Linked DNA regions of Homo sapiens: region 2 is linked to region 1. The links are contacts of gene promoters, found by promoter capture Hi-C in blood cells and fetal thymus (Javierre and others, 2016). All regions are on one chromosome and are shown on one strand. The core of a region is centred on a gene start or on the middle of the fragment in contact, and the rest is flanking DNA. Distances in the headings are between cores, read along the strand shown.

Region 1 (2,691 bases), core at 77-2,576:
ACATACCCTTAGACTCAGTGCAGAAGGTCCCCAAAACTTCCCCTCCTCTTTCTCACTACTCATCCACTGTCAATGACCCTAGGAGTTGAAAAGTCCTTCTCCACTTCTACCTTTATCTCTCAATCTGCAGCCATGGGGAGACTCTGGGAGCTACCTAAGAACAGAGGTGCTGATGGTAGCAGAGTGTGAAGCTCCAGGGTTGGGCAGGAGTGGAGGATGGCGAGACGAGACGGCAGAAGAGGGAAGGGACAGCTGCTTGCCCTCTCCATGCCAGGTGCCACGTGCACCAGGTGGGGGGGAGTGGGCGAGTCACGAGGCTGTGGCATGGCTGACTCCTGCTCTGCTGTTTACCAGCTGGGAACGAGAGCAGGAGGAGGTGCCAGGGAGCCTCTTGCTGCAGCCTGGCCCCTGGCCAGTTGCTTGTTGGGTAACCAGGAGAGTCAGGCCCAGCTAATCAAACTCTGGGCCCAGGCCATGCAGGAGAAAAGCAGCACCAGGATCCCCAGAAGCCTCGTCCTCTTGGCCCCCTTCAGAGCCTTCACTGCAGGCCTCAGTGTGGGCCACTAGGTCTGGGAGCCTCTCCTTCTCCCAATGAGTCCAGTGCAGCATCTCTCCTCTCCTCTTCCCCACCATGGCTTCTCTGCCTCCAGGCACTCCTCCAGGCCTGCCCCTTGCCCCAACAGATGAGGAGCACGTAGAAGCATCAGGGGGTCAGGGAGTCCTGGCAAGAGCAGCAAGGGTTAGGGGCAGGGGCCGAGCAGGCAGAGGCCTCAGGGAACTGAACAGTCACTGGGAGGAGTCTGACTGCATCCTAGAGAAGAGACACAGTCCCCCAAACCTGCCCTCTCCATCTCCCCTATGCCTGTCACCTGTCTTAGGTAGAAATCACAGGATTCTAAAGTCACAAAGACTTGGGTCCAAATCATAGCTCACCCATTTATTGTTCTTGTGTGAGTCCTTGGGCAAAATCATTAATATCTCTGAGAATCCCTCCACTCACTGATCAATCTGGAATAATAATGTTTCCCTGTGGTGGGTGCTGTGAATATTTACACAAAGTAAAAGCATGGATTTACATAAAGTGTCCTGCAAAGGGCCCAGCACACAGTAAGTGATTAATAAATGCTAGTTCCCTTCCTTTCTCCTGTCCTGTTTCTCCTCAAGGCTCCATGCACTGGTCCACTGGTCTCTCCTCATGTCCCCTCCTGGTGCCAGGACACTCTGCCAGCCACTCCTTTTCCCTGCCTGCTGGAGGGCCAGGTGCTCCCGCCTTCCACCCTCCGCCCTCCTCCCTCCCCTGGGCCCTGCTCCCTGCCCTCCTGGGCAGCCAGGGCAGCCAGGACGGCACCAAGGGAGCTGCCCCATGGACAGGGCCCCACAGAGACAGCACCGAGCCTCACGGGGTAAGAGGCCCATGGCCCTGCCTGCAGGTGGAAGAGACTGCTGGAGGTTCAGAGGAGGGCAGAAATGGCAAGAGACTGGGCAAGAAGTGAGGAGGGGAGGGAGGGACAAGAGTGCAGAGGAGAAAGCCCTGGGTTGGCAGGGAGTGAAACTGGAGGAGAAACAGGAGGAGGGGCTGGGGAGATGACAGAGGAGAAGAAATCGCAAAAGGAGAGAAACAGGAAAGAAAGGGAGAAGCGGGAGAAGGAAGAAACAGGTTGGAGGGTAGATGGGGAGGGAAGAGCCAAGTCAGGGGAGCCAGATCTAGACCCAGCGAGGGGTCAGAATGTGGACAGGCCCTCCCAGGTGTGGGCTTACCCCCCAGGAGGCACAGGGACACTGCTTCCTTGATCTGGCCAGGACCCCAGACAGCAGTGGCCGGGAGGCTGGCTGCTCCACCTTCTGTTCATTCACCAGTGGAGAAACCTGTCCTTTAAGGAGTGACAGACTTGGGGAGTGTGGCAGGGGGAACCACACCCTGTCAGCTGCCCATGACCACGTAGCCTGGTCCTTTCCTCGCCACTCACCCAGGGATGTGGGATTTCATCTCTGCAGAGAATGTGGGGCACTGGGCCATCAGCAGGGAAGGACAGAATGTCAGGCCGTCCTTGGCCCCACCCATGGTCCAAGTCAGGAACCCCCTCAGAGCAGGATCGCAGGGCCACAGGCTTGGTCAGCTGTGAGCATGGAGGAGGAAAGTTTGAGGGCCAGAGCCACCAAGCTCCAGGGCCACCTGGTGGAGGAAGAACTGGCTGCCTGGGTGAGCAAGGGGAGCACCCCCACCACAGGACTGCTCTGAGGTGCAAGGCTAGAGGCCAGGAGCCGGTGCCACGTCAGGGAGGAAGCTGGGTGGGGCCAGGCAGGAGCAAGGGGAGGTGGGCGGGGCTGGGTGGGGCCTTGCCACCTCGGGGCAGTCTTTTCTCCTCCCTCACCCCAGCAGAGCCCAGGCCATCAGGCCACTCGCCTCCACACAGCCTAGTGACCACGGCCTGCCAGTGGGGAGCATCTCCCGGGCAGAAGGGCACTGTGTGTGTGTGTGTGTGTGTGTGTGTGTGTGTGTGTGTGTATGTCAGGTGTCAAGACTGAACAGCAGAAGGAAAAAAATAACAGAATAGAGTCAGAGGTTAGGGAAGCTATAGGGGGTATAGGGCATGGTTGAAGGGCTTTCTGAGACAAAAGACTGGCCATGTGTTCTGTGATGAGCTGCTATGTGGATGTAGGAAATGGGCCAAGGTCTGGCAGGGGAATCCT
Region 2 (2,691 bases), core at 140-2,639, 190 kb after region 1:
TCTCATACCTGTAATCCCAGCACTTTGGGAGGCTGAGGCAGGTGGATTACCTGAGGTCAGGAGTTCGAGACTAGCCTGGCCAACATGGTGAAACACCATCTCTACTAAAAATACAAAACTTAGCAGGGCATGGTGGTGCGCACCTGTAATCCCAGCTACTTGGGAGGCTGAGGCAGAATTGTTTGAACCCGGGAGGCAGAGATTGCAGTGAGCCAAGATCACACCACTGTACCCCAGGCTGGGGGACAGAGTGAGACTTCGTCTTAAAAAATATATATAATAAAAATAAAAATAAACAAAGGTACAATTGGTAGTATTATTCCTTTTCTCAGGTTTCCAAGGTTTTAGGTAATTCCCAAAAGGTCTCAACATCCAGACTGCTCTACTTTTAGGATGTGACCTTGATTTCAACTTCTTACATGCCTTATGACTCAAAGTTAGCACTTAGGAAGCATAAAACTCTAAATTCTGTGTGTGGTTCTAAGACTACAGAAGTCCATGCTGAAATAAAACCTATATGCCATTATCTACAGCTAATTACAGATGCAACCAAGCATTATTTGATCCTCTGCAACTCTTTTAGCTTCCTTGCTTTTCTTATCTCTTCACTAAAAAGAATTTACCATAAATGTTTAGTAGCTCGTTCCTATGCAGAGGATAAATCTCAGTTTTAGAGACTGTAACTTTAGTCAACTGTTAAGCTTTAAAACCTGTAGTCTGTTTGCCAGCATCTAACAGAACCCACTGCATTTTCTACTAAGAATAATGAACATTTCTCATTATATCAACACTCCACAAATAATTAAAGGCAAATAAAGCATATTGCAACCAAAAGAAAAATTAAGTAGACTGAGCTATCAGTGGCAATTAGGCTCTGAAGAACAAAGGCATTCAGCAAAGGGGCTAGCACACATCACTAAAAATTCAAGATGGGCTTTCCTGCATAGCTACAACAGCAACAGATTAGAAATGTGTGAAACAGCTCATGGGAATTGCATTCAGGAAACTCGTGGGAAAAACCACAGTTAATCATTCACACGGATATCTCCAAAGAAAATGAAAAAGAACATGATGTGGAAAGAAGAGTAGAGACATCTAAGTTCTGAAATGGGTGAACCTCTCTATTACCCAAATATCTTGAAGGACACCATCCTTTTACATTAATCTTGCCCTATAGCACCACAGAATCAACAGTAAATAAGATACTATTAGCAAAGAGATACGGCAACCAACAAAAGAACAAACAAAAAAGAAACTAAACAAAAACTCACACGTTTACGACAAACCAGAATGCAAACTTGAAACTATCTAAAAATAAAATGGAATTATACTCAAGCTGAGTAGGACTCTTTTCCACTACTGTAATTCACCCCCTGCAATAAATCAGGGTCAGTGTCTTTTATTTATGTGTGAACTCATCCTCCTGGTAGACAAACTGACCTAGGTTGCAGCCTTTTATCTACCACTATAATAGTTTCATAATTATAAGACTAGGGGAAACAAAGCTAGATGTTCGAGGATCGAGTTGGGCTGACACTCACCACAAACTTCTCACCATTCTGCTCCACATGTTTGTATCTGGGGACCGATATGGGCACTGCTTGCTTTTCTGTGTAATCATAAAATGATTGTCCCAACGAGTCGTCACTGGGATCTAGGTTATCTGCCTCATGAGGAGGTACAGATAACACTGTCAAGATCAATTCCTTCTCGCCTGCTCGAATCAGGTCCACCACCTGCTTGTGTGTCGCCCCCTCAACATTCACGTGGTTCCTAAGGGGAAAAAGGGAAAAAGACAATCCCATAAACCAGAAGGGTCCAAACACCTTGTATCTCCACCCTCCTGCCCAAACTCCAGTGTCACACGGTATGAACCATGAAGTCAAAAGATTAATTTGGTTCCAGAAAAGTTGTTTATGTTTTAACAGTTTCTAATGTGAAAAACTTTGTGAACTTATGGCGGGGGGAAAAATGGAAAGAGGTGAGAAGACCTCCCCTTCCTCTATACTAATATCCCACACATAGCTTCAGGAACGCACATGGAAAGAGGCTGAAGCTGAGGAGGAAACAAAGCTTTTTCAGTCAAACAATCCAATTTCCTCATTCTAACTAAGCATGTATACAATTCAATCAAAGTGGCTTTTGACAGCCCTGCCACTTGAATTGTACTTTGTCCTTTTTAAACCTCAAAGGAATTCTGTTAAAAGAACCTTCACAAAATAAATTCTCTTAATTTGTAAATAGAGACTCAAAAAAAGTTATGACTGAAGATAATTCCTTTACATTTACATCCAATTTCTCTCCATATCTCAAATCAGTCAACTTAATTTTCCTTTATGCCAAGTTTCATTACTTTGGGAGCTAAATGGTATTACTCTTCACATACACTAGTTTCCAATTCAATTAACCTCTTGGGATTCCATCAACTTTTTTCCTGCTCTATGCTATCTCATTTAGAGTCCTGTGTAATCAGTCCAAACTAAAAAATATACACCTATAATTATATGGTCAGCCTACTAATTTTCCTTCCTGTTTTGCTGTGTACAAAAGGCTGAAATAAGGCAAACAAAGTACAAGGTTTAGATGAAGTATTTTGTCAAGAAAGATGCTGAGTCTCACAAGACTCCCTCAGCAAACCAAACTACCTTCCAGAATGCTGATCCAGCTGCTCTCTCAGCAAAAACCACTGGG

The links. Contacts are between HindIII fragments. The CHiCAGO score rates a contact against its expected background, and 5 or more counts as called.
Region 2: a contact is called between a fragment that was not itself captured here and the fragment with the promoter of RORC in region 1, in 2 of 17 cell types (M1 macrophages and naive CD4 T cells). The highest score is 6.8, in M1 macrophages.

The regions. Positions count from the first base shown.
Region 1 is chr1:151,830,437-151,833,127 of GRCh38, reverse strand. RORC (RAR related orphan receptor C) reads left to right here and starts at 1,326. Exons shown (of 11, transcript NM_005060.4): 1 at 1,326-1,403. The coding sequence starts at 1,364. RefSeq lists an enhancer at 2,018-2,691. The HindIII fragment of the contact is 14,534 bases long and covers 1-2,691 here.
Region 2 is chr1:151,637,970-151,640,660 of GRCh38, reverse strand. SNX27 (sorting nexin 27) reads right to left here. Exons shown (of 12, transcript NM_001330723.2): 2 at 1,542-1,773. Among named protein-coding and RNA genes, the nearest start is that of SNX27, 27 kb to the right of the region's middle. The HindIII fragment of the contact is 1,372 bases long and covers 704-2,075 here.